5 separate regions of the Homo sapiens genome follow, and regions 1, 3, 4 and 5 are each linked to region 2. The links are contacts of gene promoters, found by promoter capture Hi-C in blood cells and fetal thymus (Javierre and others, 2016). All regions are on one chromosome and are shown on one strand. Each heading gives the region's core, a stretch centred on a gene start or on the middle of the fragment in contact. The rest is flanking DNA. Distances are from core to core; before and after follow the strand shown.

The links. Contacts are between HindIII fragments. The CHiCAGO score rates a contact against its expected background, and 5 or more counts as called.
Region 1: a contact is called between a fragment that was not itself captured here and the fragment with the promoter of MGARP in region 2, in 2 of 17 cell types (neutrophils and non-activated CD4 T cells). The highest score is 6.3, in neutrophils.
Region 3: a contact is called between a fragment that was not itself captured here and the fragment with the promoter of MGARP in region 2, in 4 of 17 cell types (total CD4 T cells, total CD8 T cells, monocytes and 1 more). The highest score is 5.4, in total CD4 T cells.
Region 4: a contact is called between a fragment that was not itself captured here and the fragment with the promoter of MGARP in region 2, in 12 of 17 cell types (naive B cells, total CD4 T cells, total CD8 T cells and 9 more). The highest score is 11.6, in naive B cells.
Region 5: a fragment that was not itself captured here is called in contact with the fragment with the promoter of MGARP in region 2 in 7 of 17 cell types (naive CD8 T cells, total CD4 T cells, naive B cells and 4 more); the score reaches 6.5 in naive CD8 T cells.

Annotation. Positions count from the first base shown.
Region 1 is chr4:139,047,135-139,050,528 of GRCh38, reverse strand. No RefSeq gene overlaps it. Among named protein-coding and RNA genes, the nearest start is that of NOCT, 33 kb to the right of the region's middle. The HindIII fragment of the contact is 4,269 bases long and covers 1-3,394 here.
Region 2 is chr4:139,278,273-139,281,668 of GRCh38, reverse strand. MGARP (mitochondria localized glutamic acid rich protein) reads left to right here and starts at 1,444. Exons shown (of 4, transcript NM_032623.4): 1 at 1,444-1,592. The coding sequence starts at 1,511. RefSeq lists an enhancer at 1,480-1,689. The HindIII fragment of the contact is 26,288 bases long and covers 1-3,396 here.
Region 3 is chr4:139,144,945-139,148,322 of GRCh38, reverse strand. All of the region lies in intron 1 of ELF2 (E74 like ETS transcription factor 2), which reads left to right. Among named protein-coding and RNA genes, the nearest start is that of ELF2, 31 kb to the left of the region's middle. The HindIII fragment of the contact is 4,043 bases long and covers 1-3,378 here.
Region 4 is chr4:139,108,998-139,112,597 of GRCh38, reverse strand. The region is part of intron 4 of ELF2 (E74 like ETS transcription factor 2); the gene reads left to right. Among named protein-coding and RNA genes, the nearest start is that of ELF2, 66 kb to the left of the region's middle. The HindIII fragment of the contact is 3,650 bases long and covers 516-3,600 here.
Region 5 is chr4:139,125,842-139,129,704 of GRCh38, reverse strand. The region is part of intron 3 of ELF2 (E74 like ETS transcription factor 2); the gene reads left to right. Among named protein-coding and RNA genes, the nearest start is that of ELF2, 49 kb to the left of the region's middle. The HindIII fragment of the contact is 2,948 bases long and covers 190-3,137 here.

The DNA of each region.
Region 1 (3,394 bases), core at 725-3,224, 230 kb after region 2:
CAAAGTACAACTGACAACCTCTCGAAATTGAAGAACCTAAGCACTAGCCCACAACCTCACATCTGCCTAGAGGAACAACTGGGTAGAAAAGACCAACCAACCAATCTTTTGCCCTTCAGTCAGCCCTTCTGCCTATTTTGGGCTTAAATTTCTATAAACACTTAGTTCTGCCCTTTCAAATTGAAGGGTTATTCTCTTTGGTGAAAAAATTAGGAGTGGGTTGTTACGACATGAAATACAGAGGGCCCTTCCCTTTTTTGTTTTGAAACTTAGCCATTATTATTGTGTGACTTACAATATGTATTTTAAAATTTATATTATTTTACAGATCTCACAAATCTATGAGGTTGAGAGGGCAGATATACTCTATGGATGAGAAAACTTAGGCTCTACTCGTTCAGGGTCACACTGGTGACAGCTAAGTCTTTTCAGTTACAGCCTGTGCCCTTTGACATGTTGCTTTTTTCCTCTCCCCTTATTGTACATGCCCTAGTTCCAGGCCTTTGCCATTCTGGTGTTTGACCATGGCTCACAAATCTCTTGCTAATATCTATCCACTCCAGGTAAAAAGTCTGCCTGTCCTATATTTTTATACATGTCATTTTAAAGAAAGAGTTGATTAGAGCTCCTTATGCATGCACATTCATTTCTTGGATGTCTTTCCTTTTTTAAAACTGAAATCATGTTTTAGTTTTCTCTCTTTTTAGAATTTAATTCTTGGGAATCTTTCAAGTCTAACACACATGATAAATAATGCATATATATGTAACTATATGCAACATTCCCTTCATTATAAATCTTGACTGTTTTAAAAAATGGTTTGAATACAGAATATTTGCATCAGTTTTTTCCTTTAATTTGAAATACTAGAGTAGCTGTTCTTATTGCTTCCTTTAAAAACTACGATTGAAGTACACAAACAGTATCAAATGTTCTACTTTGGGCAAAACTAGACTTTACTGTATCAGAAAACTGGAAATCCAGGCCGGGTGTGGTGGCTCACGCCTGTAATTCCAGCTACTAGGGAGGCTGAGGCAGGAGAATCACTTGAACCTGGGAGGCGGAGGTCGCAGTGAGCTGACATCGCACCTCTGCACTCCAGCCCAGGCAACAGAGTGAGACTCCATCTTAAAAAAAAAAAAAAAAAAAAAAACCCACTGGAAATCCATTATATTCCAGTATTCAGCCACCATATCCTGCTTCTAGTCTAACACTGTATGTATGATAGTTCATGTGTATTTGACTTACATGTTTGACCATTTGACCATGTTTAACAAATCTCTTGCTACACTGCAATGTCTATTCTCCCCGTTTGTGTTCACTCAAAGCCAAAGAAATGGTGGTGGGGAAGAAGCAAGCACTTTGGAATCCAGACAGACCTGAGTTTGAATCCTGACTCAGCTACTATTTATTTGCTATCACTTTGCTCAAATTATTTGACCTTTTGAGCCCCCGTCTATAGTTTAGTTTTAAGATCGTATGTAAAGCTCTTGGAGTCAAAGGAACTCAAATGTTAATTTCATCATATGTATACACCATAATGCCTTATTTAAATAAACAATCCAGTCAGTCGTTACTACCACCATGTACTACGGTATCTACTGAAATGTGGCATGAAGGAAACCAAAACTCATGCCATTCCTACTCCCTCTTCAAATTTGCAATTTACCTTCTGAGACTCTGACAAAACAGTGTATGGGAAAATAGAAAAATAAAAACCAGAAACAATAGTATATAGGGTATAATAGGAAAAGCAGAATGAAAGGTACATATGGATGGAATAAGGGATCTATGCAAGGAACATGCAACTTAGGGTGGGGCACAGTGGCTCATGGCTGTAATCCCAGCACTTTGGGAGGTGGAGGTAGGAGGATCACTTGAACCCAGGAGTTTGGGACCAGCCTGGGCAATGTGATGAAACCCCATCTCTACAAAAAAGTAAAAAATTTTAGCTGGGCATGGTTTCACGTGCCTGTGGTCCCAGCAGCTCGGGAGACTGAGGTGGGAGGATCACTGGAGCCCGTGGGGTAGACTACAGTGAGCCATGATCACACCACTGCACTGCAGCCTGGGTGACAGAGCAATACCGTATCTCAAAAGAAAAGAAAAAAGCAACCTATTAAGATTTATATACTACTAAAAAATTATTAGAAGGCTCACATATGACTTTAAAAAAATTTTCTTTTTCAGTTCCTGATAATGCATCAGTGAAGGATCCAATCTCCTGCAGTGATAACTAGAAAGGATAACTCGAGAGTTTCACTGGATTTTTTCCAGTCCCCTTAACTCATAGTAACATACCAATCATATGTTGGTGTTTCCAAAACTGATTTCGTCTGGTGGCATGCCCATGCACCCATATGCCCACCCTCAACTCATACCCTGTTAATTTTGTTGGTAGACAACACTTGAAACTCAGACATTATTTTGGCCTTCATTCTTATCCAGATTTATTTATTTAAGGCTGCCATGGTTTCTCTTCCGGTTGAAGTATTTTGGGGTAGGTAAACAATGTACCTGCAATAATGAGTATTCTAATCAGTATTGTTCTCAACAACATATGACTAGCAATTAGTCATGCTAAAATCTGAACCAATTCTACATTTGGTAGATGTTCCCGTGCTTGTCATTCTTTCCAGTAGCCCCAAAATTCTGTGCATACTATGTTACTTCTGAAAACCTCATTTGTTTTAAAAGTGGTTCTATTAAAGAATGAGTGATCCATTTCAGTGGACGTTGTTGCAGCTACAGATCTATGTACGTTCACTTTTACAGTGAAGGCTCCATGTGTGAATGGATATATGTGGGTCATTATGATAAAACAGTATTAAAGGAGAAAATCTACTCCCAGATTCTTTTTGGACTACAAAGACATTAAAAGCACTAGGTTTAAAAGACCATTTATTAATCTTATGTATTTACAACTCACAAATTAAAATATCTATTACCAATAAGTTATTTTGTTTGGAAGAGGCTTTACCTGTAATTTTTACTTTTATTTCTGATGGAAGAGAATTCCAGGTTTTTTTGAGATGGAGTTTCACTCTTGTTGCCCAGGCTAGAGCGCAATGGTGCAGTCTGGGTTCACTGCAACCTCTACCTCCCAGGTTCAAGCGATTCTCCTGTTTCAGCCTCCCAAGTAGCTGGGATTACAGACACCTGCCACCATGCCCAGCTAATTTTTGTATTTTTAGTAGAGACGAGGTTTCACCATGTTGGCCAGGCTGGTTTCGAACTCCTGACCACAGTTGATCCGCCCACCTTGGCCTCCGAAAGTGCTGGGATTACAAGCATGAGCCACCACACCCGACCCAGGTTATCTAACTTTTTACATTCTTCTTTCTAGATATTTTGAATGACAGTATCTGGCTATCTTAGGAAATTTCAATGAAAG
Region 2 (3,396 bases), core at 195-2,694:
TAACTCTCTTTCTGAGTATCAAAAAACCAATCTGATCATTGGCTTGTACTCTTCTTATGAGAATATGTTAAATATAATTATAATTAGGTTCAGGACTATAACTTCTGAGAAACGTCTATTTACATAGCAAATGAACAAATATTGTGCCTGTTACATGCCAATAGAACTTTAAGCTAGAAGTATTATGTTCATGTCCTTTTTGTTTTTTAATTCATGACCACCAGTAAATCCCTGGACATTCCCACCCACCACCTGGTGGTGGCATTTGCTAAAGGGAATAATTGCCACCTCCCTCAGAGGGTTGCAGTGAAAATTAAAAGAGATAATAGATGTGAAAGTGCTTTATAATCTTTCAAGTGCCAAACACACATAAGGGATTATTATAGTAGGAAATGGTGTCTTCCAAAGAGTAATCATTTAGACAATGTTATAAACGTAATAAATTATTGGTTTCCATATTCAAACCATGACAAGTTCTTGTAGCCACGATGAGACGGAAAACTAATAATTTAGTATTTTTAGTTGATGTGTTTTTTTGTTTTGTTTGTTTTGTTTTGTTTTTGGGGTTTTTGTTTTGTTTTGTTTTGCTTTTGAGACAGGGTCTTGCTCTGTCACCCAGGCTTGAATGTAGTGGCATGATCTCGGCTCACTGCGACCTCCGCCTCCCGGGTTCAAGCGATTCTCCTGCCTTAGCGTCCCGAGTAGCTGGGATTACAGGCCCGCGCCACCACTCCCGGCTAATTTTTTGTATTTTTAGTAGAAACGGGGTTTCACCATGTTGCCCAGGCTGCTCTCCAACTCCTGACCTCAAGTGATCCGCCTGCCTCGGCCTCCCAAAGTGCTGGGATTATAAACGTGAGCCACTGTGCCCGGCCGCTGATGTGGAAATATTAATTTCACATCCCATAGAGGAATATACAGTGTTTTTGATATTTTAAAGTCGTTTTAACAGTGAGCTGTCTAGAAATTCAACCATTGTCTGCAGATTTTCTTACGATTCTGAGCATCACCCAGTGCGCTAATGGAAGGCTGAGGCTACCCCTTCGCTCTTCTCATTTTTAAGAAACTTCCAGCTATCCTTCCCTCTCCTAGGAAAGCTAACGGAATGCAGGAGATAAAATGGTTTCAGATTACATCCAGCGTGATAAACTGTGTCCTTGTCTTAATCTCGTCCAATTCCCAAAACATTTCCAGCTTGCTGTGAGGAGTTACATTCAGTGGTACAGAATGAGCCAGGCAGGCGACGGCGACTTGTAGGTTCCCCATCCCTTTTCTGAGATGCCGCGGTCAGCTCTAGAGACCTCAGGGATAGCAACAGAGCTGGAGATGGGTTAGGGGAGGATGGTGAGGACTACAAAGGTCTCCCCACCTCCCGGGGGCCGCGGAGGCGGGGCTGGATGAAGGTCGACGTGCCTCCTCCGGGCGGGGCGCTGCCAGGCTCTCAGCCTCTCTGTGGAAGGGCAGCCTGCGCCTGGGTACCGAGGCTGCTGCGCGGCGGACAGCGGGCGCGATGTATCTCCGCAGGGCGGTCTCCAAGACTCTGGCGCTGCCGCTGAGGGCGCCCCCCAACCCCGCGCCGCTCGGAAAGGACGGTGAGTAAGGAGGTCTAGCCCGGAGAGGAGGACGGGCGCCTCGGGTGCAGATTTCGCCCGCGCCAGGGAACCGGCCGGCACCCAGTTGGCCAAACCCGACCCAGAGCAGCAGAAGCCTGGATTGGAGGTCGAGGAGACTGGGGGAGACTCCCGGGAAGACGTCCCGAAGCTCCTGCAGACTTTGGAAGTAGGGAACTTTTCCAGGGTGCCTCAGAGTCCAGATTATCTGGGTTCGCATCCTGATCTTGGACAAATGGCTTAACCTGTTTCCTCATCTATAAAATGAGGGCGATGATGGTTTTCCTTTTTAATGAGTTAATGTATGGTTAAAAGCACTTAAAAACGTGCCTGGCTGACAAAGTCGCAGCTTACCACTTTTATTGTTAGAGGCACCATTCGCTCTCCAATCTCCTGAGGAAGCAGAGGAACGGTGGGAAGGTGGACGCCGATCAGCGAGCGGGCCCGGCAAGCGCTGGGAGGCAGTGAGGCAGGGCCCGCTCAGTGGACGCTGGGCGAATGTTCGTGGGGTAAATAAACCTAACCCTTGGCAGGGTCTCAGCAGCCTGAACCCCGCGAGCGCCTGGCTCTGAGATCCACAACCCCCAAAAAGGAAGCGGCCTTCGGGACACTTTCCTTTGAGGTTGCACGTCGTCCTGCAACTGCTTGGCTCTGTAGTCCAAATATCGACACCTTTGGTTCTGAGGATACGCGAGAAAAAGCAGAATACTCAGCAATTAACTAAAGGGGGAGTTGCAGTGTGAACTGGAGGCTTATTAAATAAAAACGGACATATAGGAAAGCGCTTCGTATAGTGCTGGGAACATAGTAGGTGCTTAATAGGTGTGAGCAAGGAAGATTGTTTTTCTTCTGGGACCAGGCTTGCGCTCCAGGGCGGTTCTGCCCCAGCCGCTTTTCCCTAGTCCCCATCCGTCACCCCTCTCTCTTCCACTCACGACTGGGGGACGGCTCTTAGACAATATCGTGAAGGGTTCTTAATGCTCTCTTCACTTAGCCTCACTTTCTGAGCCTTCCGAGATAATTTTACCCCAGAGGGTGGATTCCAGCAGGAGAGAAAGATGTGCGCGGAGAATTCCATGGGCCGATTTTTTTTTCACGTTGATTAGGCCTCTGTTGGTGGTGGTGGGAGGGAAGGACGGAGGTCTAACTAACTCGCTTTATTTTTCTTGTAAAATGCTGGTGGAAGGAAGTTATCCCTCAAGTATCAGAAATAAGACATCTTCGTTTTCCTAGATCTTTATTGCCTTTATTTTTCTAGATCTTTATACCAAATGATATAGAGCTTTTAAATATATATATACACTGATGAAGTAGGGAGAAGCCATTTATTTTAAACTTCGGAAGATAACGGGACTGTTCTGTTGAGAACGGGGAGAAAGATTAGTCCTCTGACCGTGGCCTTTCGTTTTATCTGTCTGCGTTCCCCACCGACATCATGCGCGCGTGCACGCACACACAAACACACACACACACACGCGCACCTTTTTTTTGTAGCTGCAGAAATTCCAAATAATTTTCTTCCCAATTTGCGGCAAAATAGAAGTAGTTTAAAAATTTTAAATACGTATCTAGCAATGCTGCTTGTAAAGGTACTGGTCTTTCTCTGATTTTCATCTAACTATTTTTGCAGCACTTAAAATGTATTTAAGAACTATTATTGATTGGAAACAAATTTGTCTTCAGTCGTGGACATTACTTAACCTTTTGTTCATACTTTCTACTTTGATGAAAAATAATTTTTTTCAGTTTTATTGAAGGAAAAATTTTTAACTGTGTCTCATCACAT
Region 3 (3,378 bases), core at 288-2,787, 130 kb after region 2:
AAAAAATTAGCCAGGTATGACTTCACCTGTCTGTAGTCCTAGCTACTGTAGAGGCCCTGAGGTAGGAGGATCACTTGAGCCCAGGAGGTCAAGGCTGCAGTGGGCAGCCTTGTCTCCCCACCCCCCCAAAAAAATCACATATTATATAATTATATTCATATGAAATGGCCAGAACAGACAGCTCTCTGGAGATAGAAAGTACATTAATTTTTTTTTTTTTTTAAGGTACAGGGTCTTGGCTGGGCACGGTGGCTCATGCCTGTAATCCCTGCATTTTGGGAGGCTGAGGCAGGCGGATCACCTGAAGTCAAGAGTTTGCGACCAGCCTGATCAACATGGAGAAACCCTGTCTCTACTAAAAATACAAAATTAGCTGGGCCTGGTGGCGCATGCCTGTAATCCCAGCTACTCGGGAGGCTGAGACAGGAGAATCGCTTGAACCTGGGAGGCGGAGGTTGCGGTGAGCCGAGATCGTGCCATTGCACTCCAGCCTGGGCAACAAGAGTGAAACTCCATCTCAGGAAAAAAAAAAAAAAAAAAAAAATCTCTGGCTGGGTGCCGTGGCTGACGCCTGTAATCCCAGCACTTTGGGAGGCCGAGGCAGGTAACTCATGAGGTCAGGAGTTCAAGACCAGCCTGGTCAAGATGGTGAAACCCCGTCTCTACTAAAAATACAAAAAAAAATTAGCTGGGCGCAGTGGCAGGTGCCTGTAATCCCAGCTACTTGGGAGGCTGAGGCAAGAGAATGGCTTGAAGCCAGGGGAAGGAGGTTGCCGTGAGCCGAGATCGCGCCACTGCTCTCCAGCCTAGGCGACAGAGTGAGACACTGTCTTAACAAAAAAAAATCTCCATACTGTTTTGCATAGAGGTTGCACTAATTTACATTTCCACTAGCAGTGCATAAGTGTTCCCTTTTCACCAAGTCCATGCCAATATCTATTGTCTTTTGTCTTAATAATGGCCATTCTTGCAGGAGTAAGATGGTGTGTCATTGTGGTTTTAATTTGCATTTCCCTGAATGATTAGTGATATTGAGCACTTTTTCATTTATGTGTTGGCCAGTTGTATATCTTCTTTTGAGAAATGTTTGTTCATGTCATTTTCCCACTTTTTCATGAGATTATTTTTTTTCTTGCTGATTTGTTTGAGCTCCCTGTGGATTCTGGACGTTGGTCCTTTGTTGGATGCATAGTTGGCGAATATTTTCTCCCATTCTGTGGGTTGTCTCTTTACTCTGATGATGATGCTGATTATTATTTTTTGCTGTACAGAAGCCTTTTAGTTTAATTAGGTCCCATTTATTTATTTTTGTTTTAGTTGCATTTGCTTTTGGGGTCTTAGTCATGAATTCTTTGCCTAGGCCAATGTCCAGAAGAATTTTTTTCTAGGTTATCTTCTAGGACTTTTATGGTTTTAGGTCTTATATTTAAATCTTTGATCTATCTTGAGTTGATGTTTGTATAAGATGAGAGACAGGGATCCAGTTTCATTTTTCTACTTGTGGCTAGCCAGTTTTCTCAGCACCATTTATTAAATAAATAGGGTGTCCTTTCCCCAATTTATGTTTTTCATGCTTTGTTGAAGAGAGTTGGTTGTGGATATTTGGTTTTATTTCTGGATTCTTTAATCTGTTCCATTGGTCAATGTGTCTATTTTTATACCAGTACCATGCTGTTTTGTTAACTATAGCCTGGTATAATTTGAAGTCCAATAATGTGATGCCTTCAGATTTGTTGTTTTTGTTTAGGATTGCTTTGGCTATTCAGCCTCTTTTTTGGTTTCATAGGAATTTTAGGATTTTCTTTCTCTAAATCTGTGAAAAAGGATGTTGCTGTTTTGATCAGATTTGTATTGAATCTGTAGATTGCTTTAGATGGTATGGTCATTTTCATGATATTGATTCTTCCAATCCATGAGCATGGGATGTGTTTCCATTTGTTTGTGTTATCTATGGTTTCTTTCATCAGTGTTTGTAGTTCTTCTTGTAGAGATCTTTCACCCCCTTGGTTAAGTATATTCCTAGGTATTTTATATATATTTTTGCAGCTGTTATAAAATGGATTGAGTTCTTAATTTGATTCTCAGCTTGGTCGTTGTTGTATAGCAGTGCTACTGGATTTGTGTTCATTGACTTTGTAACCTAAGATTTTACTAAATTCACTTATCAAATCTAATAGTCTTTGGAGGAATCTTCAGCATTTTGTAGGTATACGATCATATCATCAGCAAACAGCGATAGTTTGACTTCCTGTTTTCCAATTTGGATGCCCTTTATTTCTTTCTCATGCCTGATTGCTCTGGCCAGGACTTAAAGTACTATGTTGAAAAGAAGTGATTAAAGTGAGCATCCTTGTCTTATTCCAGTTCTCAGGGGGAATGCTTGCAACTTTTTCCCATTCAGTATGCTTTGTCGTATATGACTTTTATTATTTTGAGATAATTCCCTTCTGTGCCTTGTTTTTTGGGTGTTTTTATCATAAAGGGATACTTGATTTTATTGAATGTTTTTTCTGCATCTATTGAAACAATCATGTGGTTTTTGTTTTTAATTGTTTATGTGATATATCACATTTGTTGACTTGCATATGTTAAACCATCCCTGCATTCCTGGGATTAAACCCACTTGATCATGGTGTATTATCTTTTTGATGTGCCATTTGATTTGGTTAGCTAGTATTTTGTTGAGGATTTTTACATCTATGTTCATCAGGGATATTGGTCTGTAGTTTTCTTTCTTTTTGTTACATCCTTTCCTGGCTTTGGTATCAGGGTGATACTGACTTCATAGAATGAAGAAGAACAGGTTGCTTCCTTGATGTGGTGCTGTCCCCCTTGCCCTAGGAGTAGGAGTCCCTGAGAGCCAGACTACTGTGAGTACTGCTGCTCCTCTGGGTCTAGCTGCCCAGTGGGGTTACCACATTCCAGGCTGATTCTGGGGAATGTCTGCAAGGGATCCAGTGATGTTATCTGTCCTCAAGTCTCCCAGCAATGTGTACCAGCACCAGCTCTCATAGGGGTAACAGGGGAATGACATACGTTGTGAGATTCCTTGGTTGTAAATAGCCGTAGTGCGTTGGCTTTCTTAAATGCTGGTTGTAGTATTAATAAACTGGTCATGTGGACAGACTCAGGACATCCTGGTTAGCCAGGGTACTGCAGACAGTGCTGATAACTGGGTCATGCATAAGTTTTCTCCTTCTTGGGTGCAATGTTATTTTACCTGTAGTTGCTGTAGTAAACTGTGTCTGTTGGCCTCCAGCCAGGAGGTGGTGCTTGCAAAAGAGTGCCAGCTGTGGTTGAAGTGGTGGGATATGTGCTTGTCTTATGTTACCCATGGGAGGTATTTTGGTTTATCAGATGATGGGTGAGGCCATAGGG
Region 4 (3,600 bases), core at 1,091-3,590, 170 kb after region 2:
GTTACAAGTGTTGCCAAGTAGAGATAGTTTTTAAGATTTTCTTAGATGTACAAATACGAATGCTTTAACACATATCCCTAGGCAAATCCATACCTCCATTCAGCCATCTGTCAGTGCTTACTGAGGACCTGCAATGTCCCAGCCTCAGAGCTGAATATCTTGTGGTAAACAAGACCCTCTCTTTGCCCTCACCAGGCTTTCAGCTATGTGTAGAAGATGAACAATTTATTAAACATGTTATTATGATAAAATGTGATGAGAATTATGATAGGATTAATTAAAAGTTTATGGGAGTAAACAGCAGGAGAATGCCTTCCTGAGGATGTGACATCTGAAGTAATTATTCAGGCAGAGAATAGCAAGGTTGAAAGTCTGGAGGAAGAAAAACAAGGCTATCTGAGTTGCTGAAAGAGATTCAGTAGGGCTAGATATGAATTATGAGAAAGAAAGGGGATTAAAATGAGGTGTAAGAGGCAAAATAGAAAAAAATCTTATTGCTGAGGGCTTTTAAAGCTTTGTATCTGTTTCTTGGATCAGATAAGTCTAAAGGGCAGTGAGGAGCCTTTTAAAAGTTTTGAGCAGTTTTGAAAAATACAAATTTAGTTTTTTTCAAAATAGTAAGTGCTGTAAATGAAAAAAGGAATAGGACAGTCAAAGAATTACTTAAAGTCTGAACTCCTTGGTTTCTCATTCATAGCTCCCTGATATCTAGCTAACTGTTCTTTTTCACCTTCCACTAAGTTGTCTACCTCTCCAGATTTGGGGTATAGGTGTGCTCATTGCCTACACTAAGTTAAAAGTAGTAGAGATTAAAATAGTTGCTCAGCCAGCCTTTCTTTTTGGAGTTAACAAGGTAGATGCTTTGTACGGTGTTGTTTCAGGAGGAGGAATCATTGTCTCTTATCCATTGTCCATGCCCATTTGTATAAACTTTTGGGTTTTTCCAGGACCTGGGCGAGACTCAAAACAGCGAGTCCTGATTGAATGCCATGCCTATTTGTTGAATTTGTTAGGTATTTATCTAGGCTGGTGGCCTTTAAGTCAATTGTGTAATAGGAATATTATTTTATATTGAGACCTTGTCTGTACAAAAAAAAAAAAAAAAAGGTTGGTATGGTGGCATGGACCTGTAGTCCCAGCTACTCCTTGCAGTCCCAGGAGTTCAAGGTTGCATTGAGCTGTGATGGCGCCACTGCTCCAGCCTGGGCAAACAAGCAAGACCCTGTCTCCAAAAAAAAAAAGTATATCATTTTGATCATTTGGACTAGACAGCGTAAGTTAATATATTTCTTTTGGTCTTGATGTCTTTGAGGACTAACTTGTAAGTAAAAGTTATCTTGAAACTCTATCTGTATTTTCAGCGCTGCATACAAACAACTGCTGGTTTTTATTTCCACTGGCATCATCGACAGTGTTCTAGGCCTTAGGTGTCATAGTAGATACCATAAAGAGAATTATATACAGAAGAGCTATGATTTGAGCCTTTGCAACTAAATATATATCAAAGGGCTTTATAATGGATTTTTTTTCTTTTTAAAAAATGTAATACACAATATTTAGAATATTCTAAAAAACTGAAAAATTCAACTAATAAGTATGTACTACTAAAATTAATAAAATATTGGCAGCAGTGTTAATTTAAATACATCTTATGTTCCCGAATTTAATTTTCCCCTTTCCTTCTTCCTTAAGATAATTACTATCCTGTTTATTAATGATATAATGGAATATTTACAATAGAAGTATGGAAGATTCCGGATATGTGTGTTTTTTAATTGCCAAAAAGAAGTGATCTTTTAGTTTAACAACAATTGTTTTGGAGTAGGTTGGCCTATTAGTGACAAGTTCTCATTTTTATAGGGATTTAGATAAAGATTCAAATCATAGCTCCTAAGCAGTGCAGTTGTTTAAGATGGAATGAGAGGTTGTGAGTATCTTTACAACTGGAGATTTTAAAGCAAGAACTAGAATGCCACTTAGGGATATTGTAAAGAGAATTCAAGTGTCAGGTAGGTGTTCAAACCAGATTTCTTTATAATTTTCAATTCTGAGATGCTGTTTTTTAATAACTTCATTCTGTAAAAGCATGAAAAAATATGATTGTCTATGATATGGTTGTCAGTTCAGTCTCCGGATTAGAAAGGTGTTTCATGAAACAAAGATTAGTTTTTTTTTAGTACCCAGGTTTTATCTTTAGTTAGTTTTATTCCATGGCCATTCTCAAACATTTTGTCCCTGGATAGCTGCCTTACAGATGTCTGTCTTTGGTCACAACAGGAACTGGGCAAGAAAATGTGACGTAAGCCCATCATATTGTTTTGGGGGAAGGACCAGGACCCCAGAGCATGTGCTCTGCTATGGTCAGCAGCTTTATCTTATTTTGCCACTTTAAGAGTCTTAATCTTGTTATTGTGATTAGGTAGTTTTTTCTTCTTTTACACCAATAGCACAGACATAGCTTTGAGTGTAAATTTCTTAAAAGTTTTTCTGATTAGTTGATATGGCTAGTACTTAGAAGATGCTTACATCAAAAAATAGCGTTCTTTTTCAAAGCGATTTCTAATATACAATATTAATTATAACACAAAAATATTTTTTAACGTTTCTTTTTATTTTAGATTCAGGGGGTACATGTGCAGGTTTGTTACGAGAGTATACTGCATGATGCTGAGGTTTGGGCTTCTATTGATCCCATCACCCAGATAGTGAACACAGTACACGTGGGAAGTTTTAAAAATATCCTTGCTCCTTTCTCCCTCCCTCTGTTCCTCCCTCCCTCCTTTTGGAATCCCCAGTGACTGTTATTCCCATCTTTATGTATTTTGTGAACCCAAAATTTAGCTCCCACTTGTAAGTGTGATATTTGGGTTTTTGTCTGTGCGTTAGCCTCCGGCTGTTCCATGTTGCTACAAAGGACACGATTTCATTCCTTTTTATGGCTGTGAAAAATGGGTTTTTCATTAAATAAGTTTAGAAAATGCTGGGTGAAGGAAAATTAAACAGATTTATTTACAGGAAGACTTCTCAGATGTTTTAATATGCAAATGTGATTCTAAAGAAGAGGTATCTCTTTTAAGAGATTATCTCTTAAGACTAAATGTCTTATAGAACAGCCTTATACCTTTAGAGCAGGACCACCTGGCTTGTTAGTACTACTTTGGCACAGTCATAAATAGCCAAGGGACTAAAATTCTCATTTAATAAACTGTATTATATTTAGCCTTTTACCTCATTAAGTCTGCTGCTTCTTAATGCTGCTCGTCTCATGCCGTGGTAGTGCATTTTTCTCAACTAGGTTTTAATTTTTTAATTTTGTAAATCAGACAGTTAAATACTGTGGGTTAGGAGTACTGGCCAGACCCCAAGTTGTCTTACATTAGTGACCAGAAATAATTGTTGGACCAAGAAACTAAAATGTTGTTAGCTTTACTTTTTGAAATTATTGAAGCATCTTCCTGAAAAAAAAAATAAAGTTAGATTTATACCAGCAGGTTATTTGTGGCAATGATGCTTGTTTACTATGCTCTCCTTAAGGTATATGAGGGCTTTTTCAGGGAGATAACATAGTATCTTTGGCAGAAGATACTTTCCATGATGTTT
Region 5 (3,863 bases), core at 414-2,913, 150 kb after region 2:
TGAATAACTTACTCTGTGCTTTGTACTTATACTATGCTAAGAACTTTGTGCATATAAAGTCATGGGACTTTAAAGGACAGAAATATTAAAATCTCTTTTTTAAATATGAAGAAACCAAGATTTAAAGAACACAGAATGGGGAAACAGGGACAGATGTAGATAATTTGTGCCATTTAGACATGTTAAGCTTGAAGTGTTGACTGAGTATTCCTGTAGTGATGTTAAAGTTGGTAGTTTAAAATTTGGTTTTGGAATTCAGAAGATGAGTCAGAGTAGAGGACAAATACTTAGTCATTATCAGCATAGAGGTGCTATTTGAAACCATAAGAATGGGTGGGCTTACTTGAGAAGGTAGTATAGGGCAAAAAGAAAGGAGACACTGAGGATAGAACCTCACTAAGTTGGCTAGACTTGAGTCTATGGAGATGAAAGAAGAGTCAGAGGAGACGCTTGAAAGTAGAGTGGTAGGCCGGGGGTAGTCGCTCATGCCTGTCATCCCAGCACTTTGGGAGGCTGAGGCGGGCGGATCACCTGAGGTCAGGAGTTTGAGACTAGCCTGACCACCATGAAGAAACCCTGTCTCTACTAAAAATACAAAATTAGCTGGACATGGTGGCACATGCCTGTAATCCCAGCTACTCAGGGGGCTGAGGCAGGAGAATCACTTGAACCTGGGAGGCAGAGGTTGCGGTGTGTCAAGATTGCGCCATTGCACTCCAGCCTGGGCAACGAGCGAAACTCCATTTCAAAAAAGAAAGTAGAGTGGTAGAGAAAGTTGGAAGAATGAATTTTTTAAATGAGGGTAATAATAAATGTATGAGTCTGCGGGGAGGCAGTAGAGATTGAAAACTGAAATAGAATTTGGTCGTTATTAACATTTTGAGGCTGGGTATGGTGGCCCATGCTTGTAATGCCAGCACTTTGGGAGGCTGAGGCAAGTGGATTGCTCGAGTCCAGGAGTTCAAGACCAGCCTGGGCAACATGGTGAAACCCTGTCTCTACCAAAAATACACAAATTAGCTGGGAGTGGTGGCACATGCCTGTAGTCCCAGCTACTCAGGAGGCTGAGGTGGGAGGATGGTTTGAGCCTGGGAGGCAGAGGTTGCGGTGAGCCATGATTGTGCCACTGCACTCCAACCTGGGCGACAGAGCTAGACCCTGTCTCAAAAAAAAAAAAAAAGCAAAAAAATATTTTTAGAGAATAGCTTCAGTGAGGTGGTGGAACATAGATTACAAGGAATATATAGATAAGTCAAGGAGTTAGACTATTTTTTTGAGAAATGTATACAAGTATACGTCTCGATCGATCAGTTAAAGTTCAGTTAAAGAACTTCTTTAATTGGACTTGTTGCCTTTTAACTTCAGTTAAAGATCAGTTAAAAGTTCAGTTAAAAGAAATGAGAGTTTAATATTTTTCTTTTTTTTTTTAATTTTTGAGACTTGTTCTCAGTTGCCAGGCTGGAGTGCAAAGGCATGATTATGGCTCACTGCAGCCTTCACCTACTGGGTTCAAGCAATCCTCTTGCCTCAGCCTCCCAAGTAGCTAGGACTATAGGCAAGAGCCACAACGCCCGGCTGATATTTATTTTTTATTTTTTCTAGAGATAGGGTCTCCCTATGTTGCCCAGGCTGGTCTTGAACTCCTGGGCTCAAGCAGTCCTCCTGCCTTGGCCTCCCAAAGTTTTGGGATTACAGGTGTGAGCCGCTGAACCTGGTCTGAATTTTTTTTTTTTTTTTTTTGAGACCGAGTCTCATTCTGTCAGCCAGGCTGGAATGCAGTGGTGTGATCCTGTCTCACTGCAACCTTTGCCTCCCGGGTTCAAGCAATTCTCATGCCTCAGCCTCCCAAGTAGCTGGGATTACAGGCGCATGCAACCATGCCTGGCTAATTTTCGTATTTTTAGTAGGGATGGGGTTTTACTGTATTGGCCAGGTTGGTCTCGAACACCTGACCTCAGGTGATCTGCCCACCTCAGCCTCCAAAAGTGCTGGGATTACAGGCATGAACCCTGAATTTTTTAATGCAAAATGATTTTAGCTTTTTTATGGTCAAAGAGAAGGAATCACTGAAATATTAAAACCCGGCTGGGCGCTGTTTCCAGAGGTGCTATTGTTTTGACTTATGTATTATAATTTCTTTACTTTTCTTTATAGTTTTGCCACCTATGAAAATAGTCCTAAACAATATTTTATTTTGAAAAAATAGTTTACCAAGCTAATTGAGTTAGGAAAGGGCAATATTATCATAGATAGATGAAGGCTTCCAGGAGAAGATAGCTGAATAGTCAGGTTCACTGAGTGTCATGAGCTTGTCTTCAAGTAGTCAGTGAGCAATGCCATGAGTTTTTAGAAATGTAAGGCACATCCTGCTCTGGTATCTGGCAGTGCTACAGTATGGTATGGGCTGGGTATTGCATATTTGTTCAGGAGGTATATGGTCACATGAAGAACGCTGTTCTGTATCTTTTATTTTAAGCCCATGGTAATCTTCCTCCAACACATAGTAGATCAAAGCAGAACACATCTGGGGGGTGAAATGTGTTCTTAGCTGATCCAGGCAGCAGGGCAGGTGGAGTGAGTAGGTACATGAAGGTAAGCCAAATGTCAATAAAAATCTAGAACAGACTGATCTGGACATTCTGTCCTTAGGAACAAGGTCAATGGTTATCGTAGTAATGACAGTTCATCATGCTATCTCAGGAGTCACACTGCTATATTTTGGACTGGTTGCCCTTTAAATCTGGTGCATAGCTAGCATCGTGGAATCTCTCTTCACAGTCTTCCTGAAGATTCCCATTGTTTCTCTCCTATGTTGATCTCTTCTATCCTGTATTTGCAATAGTTCTCTTTTTTAAAAAATTCACTCTCTCTTATTGATGGGATACATTCTCCAGTATCTTCTTGAGAAAGGAAACATGAAAGGTAAATGTTTGAGATCTTTCATGTCTGAGAAGATACCTTTATTCTACTTCTATAAGATGATTTGACTGGGTGAAGAATCCTAGATTGGAAGTAATTTTTCTTCATAATTTTGAAGAAATTGCTCAACTGTCATCTTCCTTCTAGTATGACTGTTGAGAAGACTGAAGTCTGTGTCCTGATTCTTTGTAGTAACCTGTGTTTTCTTTCTAGAAGCTTGTAGAATCTTTTCTGTTCCCAATATTATGATATTTCACAGTGATATGCCTCAATGTATGTGTTCCTTAATTTTTTGTACTAGACACTTGGTGGGTCCTTTCAAATGGGTGGCTTATATCCTTCAGTCTTAGAAAATTTTATTGATTTACTTCTTTCTTGTTGATTTCTTTCCAAACCTTTTTTTTTTTTCCTTTCTATTTCTTGTTTTTTCCTTATGATTTATTTTTTTGGAACTCTGTTATTCAGATAGTGGACCTCCTGGACTGGTTGGTCATCTAATATTGCCATCTTTTCTCTCCTGTTTTCTATTGCTTTATCTTTTTTCCTCTGGTTCCTGGAGATTGCCTCAATTTTATCTTCCAAGCCTGTATTCATTTCAGCTATTGTATCTTTAATTTCCAAAAATTCTTTTACTTGTATTTTAAAATGTTCTTTACTGAATTGTGATCTGTTCTTACTTTATAATATCTTCTCTGTGTGTGGAATATGAATATTTGGCTTTTTGTTCATGACTAAAAGTGATGGACTAAAAAGCTAGTTGGACACTCCATTTTGGGTAGAGTATGATGCTAACAACTGTGCCTATTATGCCTCAAAGATGCTATTGTTGTTCCTCTCTGGAAAGTAACCTGTCTTCTGCTGAGGTGGAGGAGGTCTGGTTGCTTAGCATCATGAAGGAGAGAGAAGGTCTAGGAATCAAAAGTGCATGTAATTGGTGTTGCTTT